Regions from separate parts of the Homo sapiens genome. Here regions 1, 2, 3 and 5 are each linked to region 4. The links are contacts of gene promoters, found by promoter capture Hi-C in blood cells and fetal thymus (Javierre and others, 2016). All regions are on one chromosome and are shown on one strand. Each heading gives the region's core, a stretch centred on a gene start or on the middle of the fragment in contact. The rest is flanking DNA. Distances are from core to core; before and after follow the strand shown.

Evidence for each region. Contacts are between HindIII fragments. The CHiCAGO score rates a contact against its expected background, and 5 or more counts as called.
Region 1: a fragment that was not itself captured here is called in contact with the fragment with the promoter of PUS7L in region 4 in 1 of 17 cell types (M2 macrophages); the score reaches 7.7 in M2 macrophages.
Region 2: a contact is called between a fragment that was not itself captured here and the fragment with the promoter of PUS7L in region 4, in 1 of 17 cell types (M2 macrophages). The highest score is 6.3, in M2 macrophages.
Region 3: a contact is called between a fragment that was not itself captured here and the fragment with the promoter of PUS7L in region 4, in 1 of 17 cell types (monocytes). The highest score is 7.2, in monocytes.
Region 5: a fragment that was not itself captured here is called in contact with the fragment with the promoter of PUS7L in region 4 in 1 of 17 cell types (erythroblasts); the score reaches 5.6 in erythroblasts.

The regions. Positions count from the first base shown.
Region 1 is chr12:40,941,046-40,943,745 of GRCh38, reverse strand. CNTN1 (contactin 1) reads right to left here. Exons shown (of 24, transcript NM_001843.4): 13 at 22-149. Among named protein-coding and RNA genes, the nearest start is that of PDZRN4, 250 kb to the left of the region's middle. The HindIII fragment of the contact is 3,737 bases long and covers 1-2,700 here.
Region 2 is chr12:41,507,022-41,509,721 of GRCh38, reverse strand. The region is part of intron 4 of PDZRN4 (PDZ domain containing ring finger 4); the gene reads right to left. Among named protein-coding and RNA genes, the nearest start is that of PDZRN4-AS1, 96 kb to the right of the region's middle. The HindIII fragment of the contact is 3,456 bases long and covers 1-2,700 here.
Region 3 is chr12:45,986,678-45,989,432 of GRCh38, reverse strand. The region is part of intron 1 of SCAF11 (SR-related CTD associated factor 11); the gene reads left to right. Among named protein-coding and RNA genes, the nearest start is that of SCAF11, 2.5 kb to the left of the region's middle. RefSeq lists a silencer at 2,681-2,730. The HindIII fragment of the contact is 7,512 bases long and covers 1-2,755 here.
Region 4 is chr12:43,757,432-43,760,226 of GRCh38, reverse strand. PUS7L (pseudouridine synthase 7 like) reads left to right here and starts at 1,437. Exons shown (of 9, transcript NM_031292.5): 1 at 1,437-1,497. It overlaps IRAK4 (interleukin 1 receptor associated kinase 4), which reads right to left and starts at 1,276. Exons shown (of 12, transcript NM_016123.4): 1 at 1,211-1,276. RefSeq lists enhancers at 570-629, 1,250-1,359, 1,700-1,749. The HindIII fragment of the contact is 3,611 bases long and covers 767-2,795 here.
Region 5 is chr12:41,523,400-41,526,099 of GRCh38, reverse strand. All of the region lies in intron 5 of PDZRN4 (PDZ domain containing ring finger 4), which reads right to left. Among named protein-coding and RNA genes, the nearest start is that of PDZRN4-AS1, 110 kb to the right of the region's middle. The HindIII fragment of the contact is 996 bases long and covers 758-1,753 here.

The DNA.
Region 1 (2,700 bases), core at 68-2,567, 2.8 Mb after region 4:
CACCCTCAAACATTAACTTACCTGTGATAACAAGGGTTCCAGTGCTATTAGCTTTCCCTCTGTTATTTTCTGCAAAGCATGTATAGATACCTCCATCATTCCTTGTAATGTTGTTGATTTCCAAGCTACCATCTTCCCAAATGAGTATTCTAGTGAAATAAAAATATATATAATTCACAAACCTGATTTAGTAAAATACATTATTATGTCTTAGATTACAAACACTAATATTTTTCAATTATTACATTCTATATAAATCATGCGACCACAGACATTTTTGTAAGATGACAAATTCTAGCCTTTAGTTATAATATTTTTTCTCATCATTGACATTTTGTTTTGGAAATCCACTTTCATCTTTTTCTTGAACTATTGCCGTAGTCTTCTAACTGACCTTCCACTATGGGACAGGCTGAAATCAGTCATAGGCCTGAAAGAAATGAGCCCCGGTCTCCCAGAAATGTAACCTCAGGACTTCAATTCAGACTAGGAGGTGAGGACAGATTGCCATTTCCATGGCTACAGAGAAATATAAATGTATTTTATTTTTAGAAACTTTAAAAAATATTTTAAAACCTCCTTAGTAACAACTTCTGGAACAAATTAATATTTAGGAAATTCTTCTTTGAACAGAAACTAAGTCTTTCATACTACACATATTTCCCTACCTGTCAGCCTCTTCCTCAGGGGATGGACACTAAAAACTCACTAAGTTTTATTGTATAGAAACTCACACTTAGATTAAATATTGAATTGCCTGTCATTGGATTTTTTACTTTCTTTAAATAGATAATTTTCAAAACTAAATTATCTTTGAAAGTTTGCACAAAACATGCAAACGTATATCCATTTTAAGGGCAAAGTCTGATAAAAGAAGCAAAACTATCTACCTTACTGATAAAAATCTTCATATAAGAAAATAACAAAATTTCCGCTAACATTATAGTCCAGGATTTCCTTTCCTTTCTTGAACAATCCAGTCCTGACTTGAAGCTCATTTCAGAGTACTTTTTGTTGTTGAAGGAGAAATGAAGTATCAAAATAATATAATGATAAAAGTAATTATTTAAGATCATGGAAGCTCTGAGAATATGCCACTCTCCAACTCTGAGGAGTGTAATTTATTCTCTGTCCCAGACGCCGTACTCAGAAATCCATCACTGTGTTTATTCAAAGCCACACATTCCACAGGCTGTTCTTAGCCAATGACTGACCATGGGAGGAATTTTAAACCAGGCCTGCTCCTGGAAGACAGCAAACTCCTCTGATATGCATTTTTGAATGGAAGACTTTCCAGTGGCATGACCATACTCTTAGAAGTGCAGTGCAGTCCAAGTCATTTCAACACAATCTTTTTTCCTTCCTTCCCTCTGTCCTTCATCTGGGATCAGACCTGTATCTCAGTAAAATACTTTTCCAAGCCTCCACCAGCTTCCTCTCTATTTTCCCTCCCATGCATTGCCATTAATTAATTTCTTACATAGCTAATCTTCCTGGCTTCAGCTTCTTGGAGGACACATATTAACACAGTACCAATATTAATGGGTCACACTTTTTCTCACTACCCTCTAGTATAAATCCTCAGCCAAGTTCCCACATCCCTTTCATTTAATTATTTTTCAAGAAGCACAACAAAAATTATAATGAAGTAGCAGTGGAAAAAACAATGATGATTCTTTCTTAAATCATGCTAATATTTTTAGCTTACTTATGTTAGTTTTCAATTGATCTTTTACCATCTTTAAAGGGTATACATAATTCCATGTGTCATTCGTCTCATTTATACTTTCAGGTACTTTGCCTTTGAGATTAAAATTACTTTTTAATAAAAATATTTAGAAAACCTGATTTTTTTGTAATAATTCTCTTTATTCTTAAAGTAATATAGACTAAACTCTCAAGATCTTATCCTTATTTCCAGATACTATGATATAGATCAGCTGTCAAACAAACTAGGAACAATCTGGTCTTTAACCAATTGGTCACTTATTGGTACCAAAATTACTCCAGAATAACCTCTGGAGTAGAAAAGACTAATGAAGATCCCTTCCTATAAGTGGTTTAAATAAAAGTGACCTTAGAGCTAATAGCAATCCATTGAATTTAAATTAGCAACTAACTTAATTCTGCTAATTACAAAGAAATTCTGCTGCAGAAAATATATCATTTGAGCCAAAAATAAAATCATAAAATGAAAACCTAATTACTATTTATCAAGATACATAGCTTCTTCCAAATATCATATAAACCACTCTTTAGGCACTAACCAGATACAGAAATAACTTAGTTACGTGGAAATGTTGTTTATAATTATATTCAGAAGAATAAGATTATATTTATGCTTAAAGACCAATATTTAGTTAGTCCTTGTGTATTCTTTTTCAAAATAGACACCAAAATTTTTATGTTTAGCTTTTTATACATCTTATTTTACAATTCAAATATATTTGCATATGAATACTATATCTACTATTAAATAGTATTTACACTGAGATAGTAATGGGTTAAAGTACTAAGTAAAAATTAGATTTATAGACTCTTTAATCAAGGAAATAATGCAATTTGATTTCAAAGGCTTTAAAAATATCAGAACACAATCAAACTTGTAAAATTTCAGGAGCTAGATCTTTCTCTTCTTTTTTTGAACACATATTGATATTTAGGAAAAACAAGTCCATGAAACATAGTTCTGGGAAATCC
Region 2 (2,700 bases), core at 90-2,589, 2.3 Mb after region 4:
CTGCTTTGGAATAAGATCTGTAGTGATCTAGTCTTTAAACAAACTACAGCTGAGGAAAAGCAATAGCTTTTCTTTCTCCCTCTACGTGAAGTCCATCAATTTGCAATTTCTGAGAGAATGCTAGGAATAAGGGCCTATGGTCAGAGTTGTATTCTGTGGAAAGACTGATGTGAAATCTCTGACAGTCCGTGGTGCTTTATTGATACTTTCTGGCCTGCTTCCATTCCACTGAATGTGACAAGCTCCATACGTGGGTGTGTGGCATTTGAGATTGCAGTCTACTCAAAGAGGGGTATTTTGTCATAAAGTACTACCAATTTCATAATCCACAGCTGCAAACTATTTTTTGAAAACCATTTTCAAAAGCACTTATTTTTTCAGACTCTAAAATGTGCTCACATTGTCCCCTCCTCTCTTTCTTAAGATCCCCCTTTCTCACTCTCCCTCATAATGCACATTTTCCCCTCTTTGATCAAGGACATATACACAAATATTAAAGAACATTCATGGCGATCAATCAGTGGAAACTCCTATAAGCCACAAGGTTTCAAAATACCTTTAGAAAATTCTCAGTGACAGAGAGAGCAGATTACATTAAGGAAATGAGAGGATATGGCTTTTATGTATTTCAACTTTTAGGAAATTTTTAAATAGTTTGTAAACATGTTATTCGATTTAGTATGTTCTGATATAAAGACTACACATCATACCATATGAAGACTAAGCATAGTTTAACAGCAAAGAGCATAAGGCCTTTTCTATTTCTAAAAGACACTGAAAAAGCCTAAATACAATTGACAAGTTGGTTGCAGATGAGACCTCTAACTCCTGCCAGTGTGGATCTTTTTGAAAAATTGGAGATAGCAGTATCAATTAGTTCCCTTCTCCCTTGTTGAAAGGCAAGAGACCCATCCTCATGCCCTCATACTATAGTCAGCGTAAATATTCTACCAGCCTCTCCTCACTACTATCTATGGCTGTCAGCTCCACACAGGTCTAACTAGTGTAGGCCAAAATGGTAAAAGTAATACAGGCAGCACCTTGCCTTGTGTCTACCAGATAAATCTCCTTGCTTATAGCTGGACTGGGTCCGCATAGCCCTTTTGGGCTCTTGGAATATCGAAGCCTGCTGCTTTGGACATCTGATGTGTTTCCCTTGTCTTTCGGATAGTAAGAAGGGAGCCCTGCTGTGAGGAACACTTTATTCATTCGACGTTTATTTAGTGGCTGCCAGATGCAAGGCCAAGTGCTGGAAATATGTTGGTTTACAAAATCCAATTCTGCCCTATTAATTGGGGAAAGCAGCAAAGTGGGAATTTTAATACAGTGCAATAATTAAGGGAAAAATACAGGAGCCTTGGGAGCACATGGTAGGGGTGGACCCACTGCAGCCCTAGGAAGTTTTCTAGAGGAGGTTGTCTCTAAGCTAAGGTCTGCAGGACCTAGGAAGAGCAGCAAGATGCACTGGCTAAGGGGGTAGGCATTGGGGTCAGACCTCTTAGGCCTAGAAGCCTGGCCCTGTCACTTTTTTGCTATGTGATCTTGGCCATGTTACTTAATATCTGTTCCCTCATCTTAGACATAGAATGTTGATAATATAATGTACTCCCTCCTAAGATTATTGTGAGAACTAAATGAGTCAATAAATGCAAAACGTTTGGAATAATACTGAAAGCATGTTAAGTTAGCTAATACAAGCTAGCTATTATTATTCATTCAAGGAAGTATTTGTTGGATGGCTACTATGTTTTAGGCTGTATTAATGAATATTATATATTTGTTTCCTTGCTTTTTGTTCAACTCCCCTTGTAGAATATAAACTCTAGAAGGCAGTGACTTTATTTTTGTTCATAGTTTTATGCCAAGCATCTAGTTGCAAGCCCTGACACATCCAATTTGTGTCTGATACAAAGGGCTATTTAAAATAAAGAGATACCCAAGACAAACAGATCCCCTGCCTTCCTGGAACTCGAAGTCTCAAGAAGTGTTTTCAAAACTTGGCTGCACATTAGGATTGCCTAGGGAGACTTTTGAAAATTTCTGATGCCTAAGCCTTACTCTAAGAATTCTCATTTAATTGGCCTAAGGAGTGATTCAGGTACTGATACAGCTTCTGAAAGTTCCCAGGTGATTCTATTGTACATCTGTGACCCACTGAAACGGGCTTATGGGAGCCAGCCATCAAAGGGCAGGAAAGTGGCATGACTCAGATCTTTGTTTTATGAAGTAGAGAGCGGATTGGAGTAGGTGATGAAAATGCAGGCTAAGGAGACTATTGCTCTTACAAACTCTCAATGTTTGAATATTTGCTCGAAAGCTCACAGAACACAATGAATTGGGCAAGCATACTTTTAAAACTGTTCAAGTAGGATTATTTGAATAAAATCTCTCTGACTTCCTTTAAATTAGGCAAAAATCAGGAGGAAGTATTCCTTGAATAGATCTTTATTTGATAGCACTATACTTACTCTCTGACAGCCAAGATCCTTTGTTTATATCTCAATATATTGGGTAAGTGCTTTCGTCAGAGAATTGCACTTTAATTAAATCAATTTCCTAGCTTCTCTTTAAAGAAGAGAAATGCAAGGAAGAGAGAGAGGTGGCCCACAGAGGAGAATGTGGTGCCAAGATGCCACTTCCACATGAGTCTTAATAAGGTTTTTGGCAGCTTTGGTGAGAAAAGTGATTTCCCTGACCAGT
Region 3 (2,755 bases), core at 184-2,683, 2.2 Mb before region 4:
TGTTCATTCATTTTGGATTACATTTTGGCTAACATGCTACCACTGACCTAAGATACTTAAGCAAAACTGCTGAAAAATGTTTTTAATGCTTTGTGTAGTAGATGCTGATGTTAAATTTTTTTCTCCGATTTGGGAATTTTCCCCGAATTTTGGGAAAAGCATATTAATAAATGCATTATTTTTTCGTTTTAAAAGAAAAATTAATTTCTACATATCACCACCTACCTCAGCAGCAGAATATCAGGGCAGTACATTTTAAAATAACGGTTGGTTTTTGTATTTTATTAGTAATTGTATTAAAATTTTGACATGTAATCAAGTCTGTTTCTAAACAATTGCTTTCTCTTTCCTGTTTCTTTGGCAGTTGGCTTGATCATGTCACTATTTTGGTTAAAAGATGCAAGAAAAAGTTCATGGGCCTTTTGTTTTTGTTGTTTTAACTAAGCAAGAGAAATGAAATCTTGAAACTGTCTTTGGATTTCTTTTGTTTTATATTATCCTATCGGATAATCTGAATTTATATTTTTTATGCAATGTGAGTTTTTTAAAAACAGTTCTTAGGGTAGCTGCATTTTAGCTATAATATTTTTTGGTGCTTGCAGATATTTTAACAGTCATTCAGTTTTTCACATTCAGATAGTGAACTTTTTGCCTGAGAGTTTGAGTACATTTTAAGATTTCACTGGGGTAAAATTTGAATGTTTGCTTACTGTAAGTATACTCATGCTTTAAAGACATTCTTCAGTATAAAGGGGAAGAAAACTGTAGAAGAAAATTTAAAGTTTCTAAATATGTTGCCAGAAAACATGTCATGGAGAAAATTTTACGGATAATTTTTTAATTTTTTCTGTTAATACCTTCATGTGGTAATAGGGCTAGTGTGTTAAGATCGAAACTTTTCAGGAGTTACTTAGCTCTCTATCGTCCTTTGGCACCAACTAGAGCTTAGACAGTTTTCTGGAAAACCTGTGCTTTTATTCAGCAGAGATAGGATGAATCAGTGCAGTTACATGATACTGTTGATTCATCATCAGTAACATCTTTTAGTAATCAGAAAATACAGTACTATACTACCCATCAACTTAATACTGAACTTTTAAAGTATATCAGAGATAGTTGTAGCACCTTAATTAAAGAGAGTAGCAGGCATAAAAGTAATAAAAAGAAAGTCAACTGTAGAATAATTTTCATTGTAACTTCCCTTTAGCAAGCCCTGCTATCACCTGCTTTTGTCTTTTAAGATGTAAATTGTACCTTGACTTACCTTGCCCAGTGAAATAAACTTAAAATCCAGATTTTTAATTATACTCTGTCCCCCAAAATAAGTTAATAACCTTGCACCTTGTCTTGCTTCTGAGCAGTAATAACTGTTAGTAGTGCTGAGTAGAGCCCAGAGTTAAAATATCCAGTATCATTCTCTTGCTATTCCCAAAACTCATCTTTGCATTGTATTTTTTTAAGTTGTGTCTATGAACTTAATGTATGAAATCCTAGTACATAGACACATAAAAATTCAATACATAACGTAAAAACACAACCACTATTTTGCTTTCAAAAATATCTTCCTAAAAAGTCACTGTGACCTTTGCTGATCTACAGTCTTTAACACTCCATAGCCAGAGTGATCCTGATAAAATGTCAGGTCATGTAACTTCTTTTCTCAAATGGCTTCCCTTCTCAGTCATAGTAAATTCCATACTCCTATGGTCTACAAGGCTCTATGATTTAAGTCTCTTCTTCCTCTCTGACTTCATCTCCTCACCCTTTCTCCAATCTCCTTTCCCCTACGCTGTTGTGGTCTTCTCTAACTACTGTGTATAAAACAACAGCCTTCCCCCGATATTTTGTATCTGTTTTTATGCTAGATTTTTCTCCATTGCATTTATCATTTTGCAACATATTGTGTAATCTAACTTAGGTTTATTGTTTATTTTCTTCACTGTGATTTATCTTCTGTGAGATCAGCATTTGTCAGTATTTGTCACCTAAACACCTGAACAATGCCTTCAGTGTAAGTTAATGAATTAACCTGCTTTCAGCTGTAAACGTTACAAATAGTGATTGTGGTTTGAAACTTTAGACTAAGCAAGTCTCAGTCTGTAGCATAAACTGCCAAGTTACTTATATCCATGCATGTGGGCCATGTTCATTTCAGGGGTCCTTGTTTTTTGTTGTTGTTTGTTTTGTTTTTGCTTTCAGATAGCATCTCGCTGTCTCCCAGGCTGGAGCGCAGTGGTGTGATCACAGCTCTCACTTTGGTGCCCAGGCTGGTCTCAAATTCCTGGGCTAAGTAATCATCCCGCCTTGGCCTCCCAAAGTGCTGGGATTACAGGAATGAACCACCACACCCAGCCTAAGGGGTCTGTGTTTTTAGAGGAGTATAACAGTATGTGACCTTGAAACTATCATTTGTCTTAATATAGAAGGAGCTAAGAATGCCTCAGCTAAGAGTAGAGCAGTGCATTAGCCTGATTTCATGCTGCTGACATACCTGAGACTGGGAAGAAAAAGAGGTATAATTGGACTTACAGTTCCACATGGCTAGGGAGGCCTCAGAATCTTGGTGGGAGGAGAAGGGCACTTCTTACATAGTGGTTGGTGGCAAGAGAAAATGAGGAAGATGCAAAAGCGGAAACATCTGTTAAAACCATCAGATCTTGTGAGACTTGTTCACTACCATGAGAACAGTATGGGGGAAACTGCCCCCATGATTCAAATTATCTCCCAACAGGTTGCTCCCACAACACGTGGGAAT
Region 4 (2,795 bases), core at 188-2,687:
GGGCTGATGTGGAGAGTGAGAAGACAGCATAACCAAGTTTACCGATATTTACTGAGATAGAGAAGGCTGAGGAAGGAGCAAGTTTGGCCTGGAATATCAGAAGCTCAGTTTGGAGAGGTAGAAAGCAAACTTCAAATGAACGCTCTGCAGGAAAACAGAAGAAATTTGAACTTCCCGATAGCCCTCTTCAAGGACCACTCCAAGAAAGGGAAAAGGCAGATTTTAGTATCCTCTGCTTACCAGGGGCCTTGGGCAGTTACGTTTTTGAAGCACTAATAGCGCCGTTTGTTCCCATTCTAAATGCTCAAAGTGCTTTCTCGCTTTCTCAGGGTTTGCTTTTTTTTTTTTTTTTTTCTTTTGAGACGGAGTCTCCCTCTGTTGCCCAGGCTGGAGTGTAGTGGCACGATCTCGGCTCACTGCAACCTCTGCCTCCTGGGTTCAAGCGATTCTCCTGCCTCAGCCCCCGGAGTAGCTGGCATTACGGGCGCCCGCCACTATGCCAGCTAAATTTTGTATCTTAGTAGAGACAGGGGTTTCACCATGTTGGCCAGGCTGGTCTCGAACTCCTGACCTCAAGCGATCCGCCCGCCTGGGCCTCCCAAAGTGCTGGGATTACAAGCATGAGCCACCGCACCTGGACAGGGTTTGCTTTTATCCCTTTGTCTCCCTCTGGCTTCCAAGCTGACAGGTACACTTTTTTCCCCCATCTGCGAATGTACTCATCTGATCCCATAAGCCGCCTCCACTTTCTAATTCCCTGGAAGCTTGGAGGCCGGAGAAACAAGCGAATTACAATCGTGTGGAGGCTCAGCGAGCTGCTGGCGCCACAGGCATCTGTCAGGTGCTGGCCTGACTTCCTGGTTCTGGGGAAAAGAGACTTCATTTCGCAGTCGGGTTCACGGAATCCAGGGCCTGAGAGGTGAGAAACTTGAGGTCCGACTGCGCCCCAGAACAGCTGGGTGACGTCCCTCCAAGCCTCAGGCTCTTCCTCAGGGCCGACGAACTTCTTGATTACCGGGGACCTACCCAAGTCTTTCTTCTGGAGTAAGCTCTGTCAAAGGAACCCACTTCCTCTCTAACTTTTCTCACGGATGATAAAGAGATTTCCGTTCCGCAGCCGACCCCAGCAACCCTGGGGCAGAGGTGCCGAGGCCTGGAAGCGGACCTCGGACGACGTTTGACCGAGGCATTAAGGCGGGGAATGCCTTACCTGCCCGGGCGCGGGCTGCTGAAGCCGGCGACAGAAGAACCAGCCGAACTAGGAAGCGCCGCGAAGGGGCGGGGCCTGCCGGGTTGGCCCCGCCCCACTTCCCCGATGGGCTTCATCTTGGCGCCTCCAGGCGGCTCCACAAAGTGAGAAACTCCACGTATTGCGTAGGGCGCGTCTTTACGTGGGCGCCTGCCCCTTTAATTACGCCCCTGTCGGAGGCTGAAACACTTAAGGCTTCCGGGCATGCGCACAGCGTTGTGCAAATGAATGCCTTCCACTGAACCGAGGTAGACGGGGTCGAGTTTCTTGCGCGATGGTGGGCTTGTATGTGTGTGTGTGTGTGTGTGTGTGGGGGGGGGGGGTGACGAGGTTGGCATTGAGGATCCATACCCTTTGCGCCCAAAGAAAGGTGACGTGGACTAGTGTCGTGCCTTTGGACAGGCAGAGTAAGAGGAGGGAGAAGAAACAGGTAGAGCTGCTGGCCTTGTCGGGGACACCTTTGGACGTGCTGGAGGGCAACGACGCCCTAGTTTTCTGTGAAGTTAAGTAGCTTCTGCAGGACTGGGTTCAGTATTTCTAGTACCTTCTCAGGATCCCTCCTCCGCCAACGAATTCCTCAACCACGGGCCAAGCAAACTACTCCCCCGCCCACTGTCAGCAGCAGTCTCTGTTGAATGGGAATACTGCACCTTCAGGCTTAACGCCACGTGGGCTCCTTTGCTGTCCTCCAGGTCAGTTCCACTCTTCTACCAGGATGCTGGAATTACATTCTCCCCAAGTTTCCCTACCTGTTTCACTTGCTTAGAATGTCTGTCTTCCTCCTTTTTTCTGGGAGAAAGAAAAGATCATTATTCTTTCAGGGCCAATCCCTACAGCTATGTTCTTGACCATGCTGTTTTGTTTTTGAACTCCTCTAACTGTTACTCCATCGGATACATCTTGCTCATTTCCATCAGAATCATCTTACAATTCCAAAAGCATGTTTTGGAATTGTGTCACTTTTCTACTCAAACACTAACAGTAGCCATCCATTGACCACCCAATAGATTCTAAGTCCTTGTCAGGGCATTCAACATCTTCCATAATCTGGTACTAACTCAGCTACATTTTCCAGCACTGTAGTCTCCCTGCATTCCCATCCCCACTGCTCTGTATCTGGACTGCTTGTTTTTCTTGCACACATTGCATGTTTTGTTTGTACATTACTTGTGAGGTCTCTGCCTCATTTCTATCTCTTGAACTATGGAGGACTTAGATGGCCACTTCTTGCATTATGCCTCTTCTAATTATCTTCCACTTCATTCCTACAGCTCTTATTTTGTACTAGTTATTTCATTTATTTAACAATAGTATTTATTGCAGACCTACCATGTGCTTGACACTGTTCAAAATGTGTGATCATCAGTAGTAAATAAGGCAGACAAGGTTACTCCTCACGTGGAACTAACATTCTCTTTGGAGGAGATATACAATAAATAATAAAGAAAAACTTTACCTAGAACTGCTATGCAGAAAATTAAATAGGGTTTTGTGAAAGAGAATCACTTGCTGGGCACGGTGGCTCACGCCTGTAACCCCAGCACTT
Region 5 (2,700 bases), core at 6-2,505, 2.2 Mb after region 4:
GAGCCTCTCAGGAACATGCAATGGCCAAGTACACCAGGTGTTGTTGAGATTATAAGGTAGTGGAAGGTAGGACTGGATTTGGTCTTTCAACTATTTCTCATCATCCTCAAATCAGATTTCAATGGGTTGAGAAATAAATGAGATTTTTTAAAAATGGCAGAGAATCAAAGTACTATTTTACGATGTTTGGGAAAAGGGACAATAGAGAATATGAAAGTCAAATATACAAATGGGCTTAATTTGAATTTTTTTTTTTGATGAAGGACACTTGAATATATTCAGACCTACTATGTTTCTCAGAGCATTCTTCCTTGTGCATGGCTCTGAATCATGTTTCAAGTGCTTGTACTCGGACCCTATCATCCACAAGGTATGGAGTTTCTTTTCCATTTTTTCCTTTCTTCATAAATATTCTCTACTATAGGTGATGAAATTGAGACTTACAATGGTTAAATGATGGAATAGAGATATATAACAAATCTACGTAGATCTGTCTATACCTATATCTATCTTACATATCTATATTCCATCATTTATATGGTTTCATATGTGTATATGTGGCATATACTTACACTATGAGTTTATATATACATACATATATATTTACATATATTTCACATATGTGTCAGCCATGATATTACATGTTCTTATATATTATCTCATATAATCCTATGAAGTATGTATTATTAATATTATCTTTTCACAGGTAAAGAACCTGAGTGTCAGAGACGTCTCACAAGTACTAAGCAGTGAAGCTTGATTTGAGTTCACTTCAGGCTGATTCCAGAAATAGTGAAATATAATTCCTCCTCAAATAAGCGATACAATTAGACCTCTAGTTTGTTGGTAATAAAATTTTGAAAGTCTGTCTTTGGCCTTTTTCTCTCCCCTGGGACTCTCTCATCCAGGCCTGGTATCTCCCTGAGTGCTGTATTGCAATAGCGGCCCACTCAGCATCTTTATATGCATGTCTAAGAGGTCTCTGAAACCCAATGTGCCCTAAAACTCCTGATTTTTGCCTCCTAATTCCCCACACCACACTTTCCCTCCCTCAGTTTTCCTCCTTTTAGGAAATAGCTATCTAATAGCTCAACTTCAAAAATGAAGAAGCTGCTTTCAACTCCTTTGTTTTCCTTATTCCCATAATTAGTCAATCAGCAATAATGTCTGTCATGTTTCAAAAATATTCACTGGCTTCTCTTCCCTTCTACTAACTGACCAAATCACCATCTGCTCTCACCTGAATTAACACAATCACCTCTTACTTACCACCTTTCTCTGTGTCCTTACCAAACTTGACAGTGTATTCGCCAAAAGGCAGCCAAAGTTATATTTTTAAAATAGAAATTAAAATAAAATAAAATATAAAAATAGAAATCATGCTGTTTCCTTCTTAAATCCCTCTAATATCCTTTTATTTCACTTATAATAAAATCCATAAGCCTTATGATTTGCAAGGTCCTGAATTATCGGGCCTGTAATTCTCCCCTGTCTTCTATAAACACCATTCCAACAACTCTGGCCTTTTTCTTTGCGTAGTACATTGAGCTCCTTCTTTCCTAAGGGACTCTGAACTCTATACTTTCCCTTTCTGTAGATGAGCATCTGCTCTGGAGCCAGGCTACCACAATGTGAATACCAGCTCCTCCATTAACCCACTATGAACAGTTCTTGACCTTTTCTCTGCCTCAGTTCTTTCATATGTAAAATGGGAATAGTTATAATACCTGTCTCATACTGTTGTAGTAAAGCTTAAATGAGTTAATATGCCATTGGGATTTTGATAGGAATTGCATTGAATCTGTAGATCACTTTTGGGTAGTACAGACATTCTAAGAATATTAATTCTTCCAGTCCAGGAACATGAGATGTCTTTCCATTTGTCTGTGTCTGCTTTAATTTATTTCAATATTATTTTATGCATTTCAGGGTACAAGTTATTTGCCTCCTTGGCTATACTTATTCCTAAGTATTTTATCTTTAATGCTGTTGTGAATGAAATTGTTTTCTTAATTTCCTTTTCAGACAGTTCCTTGTTAGTGTACAGAAGTGCAACTAATTTTTATATGTTGATTTTGTATCCTGCAACTTTACTAAATATGTTTATGGCATAGGTTGTGGTGATGATTTCATAAGTGTATACTTCTCTCCAAGCTCATCAAGCTGTACACATTAAACATGCACAGATTTTATATGTTCATACCTCTATAAAGTGGCTTAAAAATGAGTACATGAGTCAATATACACTAGTACTTTCCAGCAAGGGATAGTTGTTGTTATTGGTGAAGATTATTATTCCTTTTGATCTTTGTGTGGGTGGTTCTTTCTTTCAGTTTTCAGCTTTCAGAGATGCCTTCTTTGGCTATTCTGTCTGTACTTGTCCCATACTGGAATTTCACACTATTTTCTTCCTAACACTATCTTCATCTGAGATTTTCTTACTTCTCTTAATTTTTATTGCTTCTTTCCATTTTGAATACAAACTCCAGGAGAGCAGTGGCACCATGTTGTTGCCCCCTGTGTTCCCAGTACCTGAGACAGTCTCTAATACGAACTAGGTGCTTAATAAATATTTGCTGAGCAATGTGTGAAGTCACAGGCTCCAACTAACACTTAAAGGCTGACATTCTTAGCTCTGAACTCCACTGAGCTCACTATGTTTGGCTGTAACTCCATGTGTCCATCTACTTTCTAGACGCT